Linked DNA regions of Homo sapiens: all the other regions are linked to region 1. The links are contacts of gene promoters, found by promoter capture Hi-C in human tissues and cell types (Jung and others, 2019). All regions are on one chromosome and are shown on one strand. Each heading gives the region's core, a stretch centred on a gene start or on the middle of the fragment in contact. The rest is flanking DNA. Distances are from core to core; before and after follow the strand shown.

The links. Contacts are between HindIII fragments. The study calls those that stand out against the background at their distance.
Region 2: a contact is called between a fragment that was not itself captured here and the fragment with the promoter of PAPLN in region 1, in 1 of the 25 tissues and cell types used here (dorsolateral prefrontal cortex).
Region 3: a contact is called between the fragment with the promoter of ENTPD5 here and the fragment with the promoter of PAPLN in region 1, in 2 of the 25 tissues and cell types used here (mesendoderm cells and spleen).

The regions. Positions count from the first base shown.
Region 1 is chr14:73,234,572-73,238,893 of GRCh38, reverse strand. PAPLN (papilin, proteoglycan like sulfated glycoprotein) reads right to left here and starts at 1,388. Exons shown (of 27, transcript NM_001365906.3): 1 at 1,302-1,388. RefSeq lists enhancers at 827-1,397, 1,971-2,542, 2,543-3,115 and a silencer at 2,459-2,753. The HindIII fragment of the contact is 14,518 bases long and covers 1-4,322 here.
Region 2 is chr14:73,777,915-73,782,862 of GRCh38, reverse strand. It overlaps a transcript of MIDEAS not described here. Among named protein-coding and RNA genes, the nearest start is that of MIDEAS-AS1, 7.0 kb to the left of the region's middle. The HindIII fragment of the contact is 5,805 bases long and covers 1-4,567 here.
Region 3 is chr14:74,017,718-74,022,704 of GRCh38, reverse strand. ENTPD5 (ectonucleoside triphosphate diphosphohydrolase 5 (inactive)) reads left to right here and starts at 3,417. Exons shown (of 16, transcript NM_001249.5): 1 at 3,417-3,455. BBOF1 (basal body orientation factor 1) reads right to left here and starts at 3,356. Exons shown (of 12, transcript NM_025057.3): 1 at 3,171-3,356. The coding sequence starts at 3,226. RefSeq lists enhancers at 605-899, 665-959 and silencers at 3,240-3,489, 3,520-3,589, 3,600-3,739, 3,780-3,849, 3,765-4,059. The HindIII fragment of the contact is 17,677 bases long and covers 1-4,987 here.

The sequences.
Region 1 (4,322 bases), core at 139-2,638:
TTTGAACTTTAAAATCTGTAATTCTACCAATGTTCTAATTTTTTAAAGATATAAAATGACTTCTGCTTACAAGGATAAAAGACAGCATACAGAAGCCAAGCTCAGCAGAAATGTAACCTGGCATACTGAACAATGTACACACTCGTTAATTTGGCACAGTGAGTCATTGAGTCATTATTTTCGTGGTCAAGTTCGAGATTCCTGGGGTTGGAGGGTGAGGGAAGGGGGTTGCTGCCAGAGCCCTGCCTCTGCTCTGCTGGGGGCAGCTCCCAGAGCAGGAGCCCCCTGCTAGGGCCAGGCTAGGCCTGCTAGGGCGGGCGAGGCTGAGGAAAAGACGGGTGAAAGAAGAATTTTACTTGTAATTACTCAGAACACCACCGCCTCCGCTGCAATTTCACTGAACTCCAAGCCCATATCTGCCATTCCGAAGTCTGAAAAGTTCAGTTTTTTCGGTTCATTTGGTGGCAAACAACCCCTTCAACTCCAAGGCCAGTCCGGGTCTGGTCACGGGGCTACTCCGAGGGCCGTGGAAGCTCGACCTCTCCTGCCGCCCGAGGGCAGGGACCGGGTGGCCCCGGGCACGCAGGGTGGGCGCCCTCAACGTGTTGTTCCCGGGGAACGCGTCTGCCTTGAGCTAGGGCCGAAGGCGGCGACCCTAGGCGCCAGAGGGCGGGAAGGCGGGTGGCCGCCGACCAAGCCTCCCCCTACAGGGTCCCCAGCCGACTCCGGGACCGCCGCAGTCCGCAGACGCCCGTCCCCGTGGCCCCCGCCCACGGCCCCCCTCTGCATCGGTCCAGCCCTGACCAGGCACCCCGCGTCCCCACCCCAGGAACGCGCCGCGCACCCCCGAGGCGGAGAGGCGCGGTTCCCACGGGAGGCCCGGGGTGGCCGCGCAGGTGCCGGCAGCCGCTGGGGCTCCCGGACGCTCCAGGCCCGCGGCCCAGTGGCACCTCCCGGGAGGGGCGCACGGTCTCCAGGGCCTCGCTTGTACCACGCGCCGGGAGCGGCATTCGCCTGAAGGGAAGGTCCGAGCGGGCGGAGGGTGCGCGCCGGGGCCGTCCCGCACCAGCTCCCCGGCTCTCTGCATTTCCTTTCCTCCAGGCCGGGGGGCGCGCGGTGCCGAGCGATGACCCTGCGCCCACCTCCGGAGAGCGAGCCGGGGCGGGGTCTTCTCTGCGGCCCCCACTTTCTCCGACACCCCCGTCGCCGTGAGCCAGGCGAGCAAATTCCTGCAGAAGCCCCGGGGTGCGGGGTCCCCGCCGCTGGGCGCCCGGGGGCTTCCAGTCCCTCCGCCTCCCTACCTGTCTTCGCTGGCGCCGGGAGGCTGCAGCCAGGGCCGCTCCGTCGGTGCCCGCCCAGGCCCAAGCCCGCGAGGTCGGCCGGGCCGCAAGGAACGCCCGCAGGGGTGGGACTTTCTCTCTCCGCCGCTGCCTGGCCTCACCCTCCACCCCGCCCTGTCTCACTTACCCACCTCCAATCCCCGTGGGAGGACAGAGCCCTTCGTAGAGGCCCTCGTGGTGACCGGTGTTGCCCGGGGCCTCCACCCGCTTGGGTCTGTGCCAAGGCTTGGCTCATCCTCCACTCTGGTCACCCCGTCTGTCCTCTCTTGGGTCAGCGCCAGTCACCTCTCCAATCCCATTTCCCCTTGCCCAAGCCTTCTAGCTTTGCCCTATCCGCTCCTCTTCATGCCTATCCTACACACAACACACCTGTGTCCAGCCACCACCTTCTCCACCCCTGGATCCTATTCTTCAGCCGCAACTGAGTTTCTCCGCACACGCTGCTGTTACCCATCTCCCAGCACGTTTTCTCACTCAGAATGCGCTCTCCCAATCCCCTCTACCTCTCAAACCCGTAGTCAGCCCTCAAAACCTTGGTCAAATGTCACTTTCCTTCCTTTCTTCTTTCTTTCCCTCCCTCCCTTCCTCTTTTCTTTCTTTCTACTTTCCTCCCTCACTTTCTTCTTTCTTTCCCTCCCTCCCTTCCTCTTTTCTTTCTTTCTACTTTCCTCCCTCCCTTTCTTCCTCTTTCTTTTCTTTCTTTCTACTTTCCTCCCTCCTTTTCTTTTTTTTTTTTTTAGACGGAGTTTCACTCTTGTTGCCCAGGGTAGAGAGCAATGGCTAGATCTTGGCTCACTGCAACCTCCGCCTCCTGGGTTCAAGCGATTCTCCAGCCTCAGCCTCCCTAGTAGCTGGGATTACAGGCGTCTGTATGATGCCTGGCTAATTTTTGTATTTTTAGTAGAGACAGGTTTTCACCTTGTTGGCCAGACTGGTCTCCAACTCCTGACTTCAGGTGATCCACCCACCTCGGACTCCCAAAGTGCTGGGATTACAGACGTGAGCCACTGCGCCCAGCCTTCTTCTTCTTTTTTTAAATAGAAACAAGGTCTCGCCCAACCTGGTCTCGAACTCCTGAGCTCAAGCAATCTTCCCACCGTGGCCTGCCAAAGTGCCACCGTGCCCAGCATGTCACCTGCTTTTGAAGCCGTCTCCACACCACCCCAGGCCGATGGGGTGCATGTCCTGCTCCCTCGGTTTCTGTCCCTGTTGCTGTGATTTGCTCAGCTGTGAGTCCCGGGGGGCAGGGCCTGCAATGCAGCCCCACCACCTGTGCCAGGGCACTAATTAGCATCAAGGCAGGGGCTCAACGCATGTGATCAACTTCATTTGTTTTCCTGGTTGTCCTTTTTCACAACCAAGACACTCTTTGCCTACCATTCTTTTTTTGAAACTGGAATTCACTCATCTTTAGAAACTGGTCCTGGACACGAGGGAGGTTGGGGGGAAGAAGTTGGGGAGAGGTTGGGGGTGGGGTGGTGGCAAAGGCTGGTCCCCTTCCCCCACGCTGTTCTGCCTTTAGCCCCTTGCTGGCCCTGCCACTTCTCCCTTGGCCTCATTTGGGCAAAGAGAAGTCACCAGCGGGAAGCTCAGCCCCACTTCAGCCCCCTGGCTCCAGCAGCTGCCTGTTTGGACAAAATGCTTATTAGAACATGGCCAGTTTAAATCAGTTTAAATCAGGTGCATTTCTTACCTATCAATGAAGACAGGAGGAGCAGCAGCTGTAGCGGGGCCCCTGGGGAGTTGTGTGAATTCTTAAGCAAAGATAAAGCTTGGCAGAGAAAGGGGAGTGGAATCATGCAGCCTCTCTAAAGAGGAAAAGCGCTTCTTCCATTCAACAAGCCCCACTCCCTGCCCCCACCAGCTGGGACTTTTCTGAGCTTGGTCAAAGGTCCTCTGTTAAGTGGGAGGAAAATGCTTCTCCCGCTGCAGGGTGGGGGAAGCTGAGGCCCAAGGAGCTCACTTTCCTGCTGTGTCCCTGCTTTTCCTATGATCCTTTCTTCTCAGACACCCAGGGCTGTGATTTCTTATGCCTCACGCCAGCTGCAAAGAGGACTCTGAGGTTGGGAGGCAGAACCCACACTCAGTGGTAAGGGACTGTCTTAGACCCACCAGCCAGGCCCTAGCAATTACTGGCTTGGGCAGGAATATTCTCTTTAAGCCTCATTTCTCCTCTGCTTACCTCACAGAGATGTGAACAGAACTGATGCATTAAAATAGGGTGGTTTAGAAAGAAGATTCCAGGAAAAAGTGTAAGACCTTCCTTCCTATTGTCAAGTCCCCTCTGTGCTGGCTCTATGCCACTCAGTGTCTGCACCTGAGACGCCCTCGCATTGGGGGTTTGGGGTAGCCTGGGGCGGAGGCAGACCTGGACTGGAAGGCTGCTCTGCTTCTCACTGTGTGTGTACTTGGGCAGGTCGGGTCACCTCCTTAAGCCACAACTTGCTCACTTGAGACTCATACAGCAGGTGGTAGAGTAGGGAAGTAACTGGTTTCCATAAAATTCCTACTAGATGCAGAATAAAAGTTAGTTCTGATCTGGGCGCAGTGGCTCATGCCTGGAGTCCCAATACTTTGAGAGGCTGAGGAGGGAGGATTGCTTAAGTCTAGGAGTTCAAAACTAGCCAGGGCAACACAGTGAGACCCTCCATCTCTACAATTTTTTTTTTAATTAGCCAGGTATGGTGGCAGTTGCCTGCAGTCCAAGATAGGGGTCCTCAATCCCCAGGCCACGGACCGGTACCTGTCCATGGCCTGTTAGGAACGGGCACACAGCAGGAGGTGAGCAAGCATTACTGCCTGAGCCCCGCCACCTGTCAGGTCAGTGGCAGCATTAGATTCCCACGGGAGCATGAACCCTGTTGTGAACTACTCATGCAAGGGACCTAGGGTGTGCATTCCTTAGGAGACTCTGATGCCTGATGATCTGAACAGGATCAGGCTTTAGACTGGAACAGTTTCTTCCCGAAACCATCCCACCCC
Region 2 (4,948 bases), core at 416-2,915, 540 kb before region 1:
TGGCTTTGCACCTCATTGTTTTGCTCCATTTCCAGCATCTCTTTCCTGACTGTCAGTATCTTCCCAGCTTTGGCCCTGGCTCCTTTTGTCCCAGTCAGCCTGCCCTGTGATGCCCTACACCTCTGCTCTGGCTCTGAGGTGAGATAGTTTGTTACTTGGGTTGGCCTGACCTTCTGAGGAACCAATCTGATAGAAGGAGGTAGGACCAACTTGCAGGCAAGACTTGTGAAGACAGCCAGGTGCGGTGGCTTATGCCAATAATCCCAGCACTTTGGGAGGCTGAGGCGGAAGGATCACTTGAGCCTAGAAGTTCAAGACCAGCCTAGGCAATGTGGCAAGACCCCTTCTCTGTAAAAAAATGCAAAAAATTAGTCAGGCACGGTGGCACGTGCCTGTAGTCCCAGTTACTTGGGAGGCTGAGGTAGGAGGATTGCATGCCACTGCACTCCAGCTTGGGTGACAGAGATTCTCTCTCTCTCTTCATATATCTATATATATATATAGACTGTGAGGAGGGCAAAGTGAGGCTTCCTGGTTGGCCGCATGCTTGTTTTGCCCAAATAGGTGTTGAACTTACAAAACCAGGCTAAACTATAAAACTGAGTTTTGGGGAGATCCTGGCTGAACCCTAGCATTGGACTTGGCTAGGAGGACTGTGTTGCCTTTAGCCAGTCCTCATGCTGTTAATCACAACCTTGCCTCATAAGCCAGATTCTTTCTTTTTTGAAAAATAATTCACATACTATAAAATGCACGTATAAGCTAGATTCTTTTAACGTTTTGTTTTATTTAAAAATAGAATCTGGTAGATTCCTGTTTTTTACTCTACCCAGGCTGGAGTGAAGTGGTGTGATCTTGGCTCACTGCAACCTCCGCACCCCAGGTTCAAGCGATTCTCCTGCCTCAGCTTCCTGAGTAGCTGGGATTATGGATGTCTGCCACCACGCCCGTCTAATTTTTGTGTTTTTAGTAAAGACAAGGTTTCCCCATGTTGGCCAGGCTGGTCTTGAACCCTTGACTTCGGGTGATCCACCCGCCTTGGCCTCCCTAACCTCAAAAAGTGTTGAGATTACAGGCGTGCGCCACCGTGTCTGGCCTGAAGTCAGTTTTTTTTTTTTTTTTTTTTTTGAGACAGAGTTTCGCTCTTGTTGCCCAGGCTGGAGTGCAATGGCACGATCTTGGCTCACCATAATCTCTGCCTGCCGGGTTCAAGTGATTCTACTACCTCGGCCTCCCGAGTAGCTGGGATTACAGGCATGCGCCACCACACCTGGCTAATTTTGTATTTTTAGTAGAGACAGGGTTTCTCCATGTTGGTCAGGCTGGTCTCGAACTCCCAACTTCAGGTGATCTGCCCTCCTCCGCCTCCCAAAGTGCTGGGATTACAGGCATGAGCCACCGCGGCTGGCCTGAAGTCAGTTTTAATTGAAAGTTCTTAATAAACATAAAAGGGTGAAACTGGGATTTACATATTTCTGAAAAGTTATGTATAAACTGAGTTTAATAAATCAACATTTTTTCAGATGTGCTATTTTACAAAATAATCAACTTTTAGAATTGGATAGGATCTTACGGACTGTTATCATCCAGCCCCAGTTTTATAGTAACTGTAGTAACAGCATCTCCGATAATCCCATGGTTAAGGATTTAAAGCTTGGAAGGAAACCTGTGCTAACTCTCATTTTAACTGAGGCTTAGAGAGGATAAGTTCCTTCTCCAAGTTCCCACAGCTGTTGAATGGAAGAGTCAGGCACAAACCCCATTCTCCATTTCCACTGGCCATCCTGCATTGATAATTAGTCATCATAATCGTCAGTTTCAGCAGGTCTATTTGTAAACCAAGGACTCCATCTTCTCAGTTTCCCTAAGGCAGTACTCAAAGATTTAAAAAGGTGAAACTTAACAACAACAACAACAACAAAAAAACAAAAAAAACTAGGGGTGAAGAAGAGGTCTTTAAGAAGAGAGTGGGATGCGTATTTAATAGCTTTTACCATTGTATTATCTCATTGTAGTCTTAGTGGATCTTAATTGCTATCAAAGCCCCCAAAGTTTCCTACCCAGGCTCAGTTGGCCAACAAGATTACTTACTGTTTTCTAAGTGCAGAACATGGGTTAAACAACACCAAGAAGACAGAGGAATGCTCCCAGTTCCCAAGACACAGGCAGGAGAAGGCCCAGGAACACAGGCATGGCACTCTTTGAACAGCCAGTTAATGCAGGGCCAACTGTCCTCACCGGCCATTTGTGGAACAGCTGCAGTGCTGTCAACCATGTGAGTGTGGAAAGCAGAGTGCCACATGCTCCTTACCCCCAGGAGGCTTCAAGCCTAGCTCCTGAGATAGGTCATACCCATGCATGAGTGAGTGAAAGAATGAAGAACCCGAGGAATAGTCCCTTATAAACCATGACGGGGAAGGTCACTACTGTTACGGCTATGGCCACTTTTCTTTTTCTCCATAACTGGGGAAGTCAGATCCTAAATGCTTGTGGTCAGCACAGCTTCCATGGAGAGATGGTGGAAGAAATCCTGACCCTTTCCATCACCTCTAGAGCAAGTGGAAGAGGGTGGGATGGGGGAAGAACTGAGAGTGGATCTGTCACTGGGAGAGTATAATTTGATGGAGTGGCGTTTTCTGAGGTTCAGATTCTAAAGTCAGTGTGTAATATGAAATATAAAAATATAATCGGCCGGGCGCGGTGGCTCACGCCTGTAATCGCAGCACTTTGGGAGGCCGAGGCTGGTGGATCATGAGGTCGGGAGATGGAGACCATCCTGGCTAACACGGTGAAACCCCATCTCTACTAAAAAATACAAAAAAATTAGCTGGGCGTGGTGGCAGGCACCTGTAGTCCCAGCTACTCGGGAGGCTGAGTCGGGAGAATGGTGTGAACCCGGGAGGAGGAGCTTGCAGTGAGCTGAGATGGTGCCACTGCACTCCAGCCTGGGCAACAGAGCAAGACTCTGTCTCAAAAAAAAATAATAGGCCGGGCGCGGTGGCTCACGCCTGTAATCCCAGCACTTTGGAAGGCCGAGGCGGGTGGATCATGAGGTCAGGAGATCGAGACCATCCTGGCTAACAAGGTGAAACCCCGTCTCTACTAAAAATACAAAAAATTAGCCGGGCGCGGTGGCGGGCGCCTGTAGTCCCAGCTACTCGGGAGGCTGAGGCAGGAGAATGGCGTGAACCCGGGAAGCGGAGCTTGCAGTGAGCCGAGATTGCGCCACTGCAGTCCGCAGTCCAGCCTGGGCGACAGAGCGAGACTCCGTCTCAAAAAAAAAAAAAAATAATAATAATAATAATAAACAAATTAAAAAAAAATAAAAGAATGTAATCAAGATTAACCTTGATTATATATTAGGAGGGCACCAGGTAGGCAACAGACACACTGGCTCTTGATGCGTCAATTCACCTTAGCCTGCTCCTTTAGTTCTGGAAGAAGTTGCACTTTTTTTTTTTTTTTTTTGAGATGGAATCGTGCTCTGTCGTCCAGGCTGGAGTGCAGTGGTGCAATCTAGGCTCACTGCAACCTCCGTCTCCCGGGTTCAAGTGATTCTCCTCCCTCACCCTCCTGAGTAGCTGGGACTACAGGCACCCGCCACCACACCCGGCTAATTTTTTAATTGTTTTATTTTTAGTAGACACAGGGTTTCACCATGTTGGCCAGGCTGGTCTCGAACTCCTAACCTCAAGTACTCCACCTGCCTCAGCCTCCCAAAGAGCTGGGATTACAGGCATGCGCCAACCATGCCCGGCTATTTCTTCTTGTTCTATTTTGTTTTTTTGTTTGTTTGTTTTCCTTTTCCTCCTACCTCCCTAACTTCCTCCTTCCTCCTGTCTTCCTTTGTCTTCTGTCTTCTGCTAAGCTTGACCATTTGAATTTGCATAAGTTAAATGAACATGTGAACAGATTCCATTGTCCTGTGTCTCATGAGAAGGTCATGGGTGCTGTAAGTTAGGAAATCATCATATGAGATTAAGCATGAAAGGCTCTTAGACTAAATGGGCAGAGTGCGATGGAGAGGAGATCCATGGAGTAGGTTTTAAACTGCAGTTATATCATCCAGGATTGCAGATGAAAAACTTGTGCTTGGGTTGACCCAGCCCTGGTGTGGGGCTGGGAGAGGGCAGTGCCCATGTGCAGCAGACACTTTACAGTAAGGGCCTAGCCCTCCATGTCCCCTCCTCAGCCTCCCCATTGCAGGCCACTATAAGAAGCTTGCAAGGAATCGACCAGCAAGATGTGTCTGCTTCCTCTGTGGCCTCCCCATAGCACATGCTCTGGAACAACTTAGAAGCCAATAGCCACTCGGTGACCCCCTCTTCCACTTGCACTAGAGGTGGTGGAAAGGCTCAACAAGATTTCTTCTACCATCTCTCCAAGGAGGCTGTGCTGACACGTGGCATTTAGGATCTGACTTCTCCAGTTATGGAGGAAAAGAAAAGTAGCTGTAACCACAACAGTCGTGACCTTCCCCATCACGTTTTTTTTTTTTTTGAGACAGAGTCTCGCTCTGTCGCCCAGGCTGGAGTGCAGTGGCGCAATCTCAGCTCACTGCAACCTCCGCCTCCCAGGTTCAAGTGATTCTCCTGTTCTCCTGCCTCAGCCTCCAGAGTAGCTGGGATTACAGGTGTGTGCTGCCGCACCCGGCTAATTTTTGTATTTTTAGTAGAAACGGGGTTGCACTATGTTGGCCAGGCTGCTCCTGAACTCCTGACCTCAGGTGATCCACCTGCCTCGGCCTCCCAAAGTGCTGGGATTACAGGTGTGAGCCACCACGCCTGGCCCCTATCATGGTTTATAAGGTGCGTTCTGTCAGGTTCTTCATTCTTTCACTCACTCATGCATTTATTGAGCCCTTACTGTGTACTTGGCTCTGTGCTTGGTACTGGGGATACAAAGATAAAGAAGCTTCAGGTCCCCACTTTAAGGTGCTCATGGTCTG
Region 3 (4,987 bases), core at 2,168-4,667, 780 kb before region 1:
ATATTCACTTGTATTCACATAAGATAATTAAGTAAGTGCCTCTTCCTGGAGGAGGGGAGTCCTGGAGCATAACTCGAAAAGACTGGTAAAACAAAGGGAAAAGACAGGATAAGCCAAACTCATTTCAGAAAGCTTTCATATCTTTTTTTTTTCTTTTTGAAACTGGGCCTGGCTGTGTCACCGGGCTGGAGTGCAGTAGCACGATCTCGGCTCCCCAGAACCTCTGCCTCTTGGGCTCAAGCCATCCACCCACCTCAGCCTCCCAAGTGGCTGGGACTACAGGTTCATGCAACTATGCCCAGCTAATTTTTGTACTTTTTGTAGAAATGAGTTTTTGCCATGTTGCCCAGGCTGGTCTTGAACTCCTGGGCTCAAGTGATCCTCCTACCTCAGCCTCCGAAAGTGCTGAGATTACAGGTGTGAGCCACTGCGCTTGGGCAGTTTTTATACCTTTTCATTTACTTATTTGATTCTCCCATATTTATTTTTTTTTTAATAGAGATGGGGTCCCACTATGTTGCCTATGCTGGTCTCCAACTTCTGGGCTCAAGTATCCTCCCACCTTGGCCTCTCAACGTGCTGAGATTACAGGTGTGAACCAGTGCCCTAGCCTGATTCTCCTGTAGTTAAACTATCTTTTCTATTCCTACTCACTCAGTGCTGGACTTTGGTTCTCTCCACTGCAAACCCATTATCTCTGTTCAGTTTCTGCATGATGATACCCATTGGTAGTATAACTGTGATCTCCCACCCACTTTACCCTCCACTTTTGAGTGTGTTTTTTTTTTTTCTGGGGGAGGGACGGAGTCTCACTCTTTCACCCAGGCTGAAGAGCAGTGGCGTGATCTCGGCTCACTGCAAGCTCCGCCTCCCAGGTTCATGCCATTCTCCTGCCTCAGCCTCCCGAGTAGCTGGGACTACAGGAGCCCGCCACCAGGCCCGGCTAATTTTTTGTATTTTCAGTAGAGACGGGGTTTCACCGTGTTAGCCAGGATGGTGTTTTTGTTTTGTTTTGTTTTGGGCTAGGTCTTGGACAAAAAGTCAAGTCACTAGGGCAAATACGTTAAATAGTTTATCAGCTGGTGCCACAGTTCACCGGACTTTTTTTTTTTTTTTGAAACAAGATCTTGCTCTGTCATCCAGGCTGTAGTGCAGTAGCACCATCACAGCTCACTGCAGCCTCAACCTCCCAGGCCCAAACGATCCTCCACCTCAGCCTCCTAAGTAACTGTGACTACAGGCATGAGTTAGCATGCCCAACTAATTTTTAATAAAAATTTTTGTAGAGACAGGGTCTTCCTATGTTGTTCAGGCTGGTCTTGAACTCCTGGGCTCAAGTGATCTTCCCCTGCTCAGCCTCCCAAAGTGCTGGGCATGAGCCACGATGCCCCACCCACCGGGCTTTAAGGATGCCTGAGAAACCATAATCATTTATATAGAGGTGGAGAGGAAAAAGGATGGATTCAAAGATTAAAGTGGTAAAGGAAGAGATTTTTCTAAATATTTATTGTATAAGCATTAACAAAACACTCCCCCTTATATATGGTAGGTACCATGATATATAAATATGTACATATTTAAGAATATTTCACCTGTATTTGAATTCTAAATATTTTCACACATATGTACATGTGGACCTTTCTATACTGCCACCCTCCACATCCACTTTCCTACCTCTGGTTCTCAGTCCTCTTCCACAGAGGTAATGGGTTTGCAGTGGAGAGAACCAAAGTCCCACTTTCACCTTTTGTTCTCTTCAAATTAAGGCCAGCTCCATTCCCAACCCCTCAGCCTGTTATAGCTGTTGATGTCCCTTTCTGGCATGATTTAGGCACTAGTGATACACTGTCTCACTACGACCATCCAGGTATCAGGTCTGAGTGGCTCGAAGTACTTGATGCGACAGGGCATGGTGGCTCACGGCTGTCATCCCAGCACTTTGGGAGGCCGAGGCGGGTGGATCACCTGAAGTCAGGAGTTCGAGACCAGCCTGGCCAACATGGTGAAACCCTGTCTCCACTAAAAATAAAAAAATTAGCTGGGCGTGGTGACGGGTGCCTGTAATCACAGCTACTCGGGAGGCTGAGGCAGGAGAATTGGTTGAACCCAGAAGGCAGAGGTTGCAGTGAGCTGAGATCGTGCCATTGCACTCCGGCTTGGGCAACAAGAGCAAAACTTGGTGTCAAGAAAAAAAAAAAAGTACTTGATGCAAGAAATTAGACACTCTAATAGGACCACTGATACTCACTGTAGAAACAAAGCCAGGTTTCTCAAACAATGGGTCATGGAAAATCCAAGGAATAAGGTCTCTTACCCTTAGTGTTCCTCATTGTTCAAATGTGTACTGTAGAAGCATGGTCAAAATCTGAAAACATATGTTAGTGAGTTCTAGGAATGTGATAAGCCCTTGGCACTTTAAGGGCTAGACTAACTGTGCAGTTATGTAAAAACAAAAAAAAAATACCATAAAAGAATACTTACATTAACAAATGGGAAGAAAAAAGCCACATATAAGTATGTACATTGGGCTATCGTTTTATTAAAAAAGAATACTCCAAAATATAGTAGTGTTTATTTTTGGATAATGAGACTACAGGTGATTTTTGTTTTTTCTTTTGGTACTTCCCATGTTTCCCAAACTTTCTGTATTGAGCATGAATTACTCTCTTAAGTTACTTTACAAACATCTCAAGTTTGGTGCCAACTCTGTGTTCCCATATATGGTGTTGTTGCTGGACACCACGTATGACTCCAACGTGTCCAGAAACCACCGGGGTCCCCCAATAGGGCTAGTAGCAATCTAGCAGCAACTCCAGGCCTGTAAGGGGTTAGTGCTAGAACATTACCCACCTCAGTGGCTCTGATCAGTTTGGGAAAACCTCAATAATTATCCAACTTGGTAAAATACTTTAGGTGTCCCCTTTGAACCAAAAGAGATCTCTGAAAAGGCCCAAGGAACTACTTTATACATCCTCTACACGTTTAAGATAATCTGAACACATAGTAGAGATCTGCCAGACTATGGACATGGGAGCTGTAATCCTCACAAGCCGGGAGAGCCGGGGAGAGGGTCCGAGTGGGCCGGCGCGGGGGGCGCCAGGTTGCCAGCCCCAGACCCGAAATCCCAGGCAGGCCCAGGGAGAGGGGACTCTCGGGTGGCTTCTCCTTACTTCGTGTCTTTGCCTTTGCTCTTGCCTTTCTTTTTGTCCTTTCCCTTCGACGGCATCTTGGCTTCCCCAGGGGCTCCGCTGTCGTAGTTGCCCAGCCGCGGCCGCCCTGGCCAGCTCTGTCTCCAAGGGAACCGGGACGCCGAGCTGGCAATGCCCCACCCGCGCCGCTGACGGCGCGCGGAGAGCGCACGCGCCCGTGACGTAGCCCAGGCGCCGCGGCGCGCGGGGTGGGGCGGAGGTCGCGCCGAGGGCGGCGGGCTGCCGCGCAAGGGTGGCGCGCGCGCGGTGAGTGTGCGAGTGTCGGCGGCGCCGGATCCTCTACGTGGGGCCCGGGCTCTGCGGGCGGGAGGCGGGAGCTGGCAGCCCCAGGCGGTAGCGCTTCGTCCTGCGGCCTGGGTGTGTCAGGAGTCGCTGCGGTCGGGGCGCCCTTGCCTCAGGAGACTTAGATCCCCGCTGATCCGCCCGTCCCGCCGCAGTGGTCTGAGCCGCAGCCCTTTCCCGTGCCGCCCGCGGGTCCCGTTCCTCCCGTGTCTCCATGCCGCAGCCAGCGTGGCCGCGGCTACCTTGCCCTCGCCCCCGCTCCGCTTCTGCCGCTCCCGGCACTGCCTTACTCCTTTGGGTTGCATCTCTTTCCTGGCTTTTCACCCTTGCTGATTCTGTAAGGGATAGTGCAGCCAGCGGACGTCCCAGGCCAAATGTTTTTTGATAGGCAGTCGAGGACTTTCCCGAGGGCGGTGGTTGAGGGCGAGGCTGCCAGCCTCCGAAGAGCAGCGGCACGCCAGGGAGCCGGGCGGGGAGGGGAGTGCTGCCACCGAGGTCGGGAGCAGGGTCCTCGGCCTCACTAGGTCCTGTGTGGCCGATACTTCCTGCCCACGACCGCCCCCCGGATTTCCATTTGCTAATACCGGTCCGCAGCCTTCTTTCCTGAAAGTTGCATAAAGTTGGAAGCTCTTCAACTTGCCTCCCCGACTCCTGAAATCCCGAATACACCTCTGAAAAGGAGTGTACTCACAAGTATTCTCATTTTTCAATGAGAGTCAGTCAGTGAGTCATTAAGGAAGGTACGGTATTCTGAGTGCCAAGCCAATAGTTAGGAGACTTGTGGTTGAAGCTCTGCTCTGTTATACTCCATTTCAAATTAAAAAGTTTATTTTAAATGTGGTTGTAGATCCTTCGTCACCATTTCTCTAGGGAGGACTTAATCCGTACACTCCTTCCCGATGTCTTTGACCTCTAATTACTCCCCTCCGCCTTGTTTCCCACTTGCATAGTTTCTGTTTCTGAATTTCTGTTTCTTCTGAGGGAACATGCCGATTTGGTAATGATAAGCCTTGTAAACTTTTTTTTTTTTTTTTCTGAGAGAGAGTCTTCTGTCACCCAGGCTGGAGTGCAGTGGGGCATCTCGGCTCCCTGCAACCTCCACCTCCTTGGTTCAAGCGATTCTCCTGCCTCAGCCTCCCCAGTAAGTGGGACTACAGGTGCATGCCACCACACCCGGCTAATTTTTGTATTTTTGGTAGAGATGGAGTTTCACCATGCTGGCCAGGCTGGTCTCGAACTCCTGGCCTCAGGTGATCCACCTGCCTCGGCCTCCCAAAGTGTTGAGATTACAGGCGTGGGCCACCGCCCCGGCTGTAAACCTTTTTTTTGAGACAAGAGTTTTGCTCTTGTTGCCTAGGCTGGAGTGCAATGGCGCAATCTCGGCTCACCACAACCTCTGCCTCCCGGGTTCAAGCAATTCTCCTGCCTCAGCCTCCCCAGTAACAGACTATAGGTGCGTGCCACCATGCCAGGCTAATTTTTGTATTTTTGGTAGA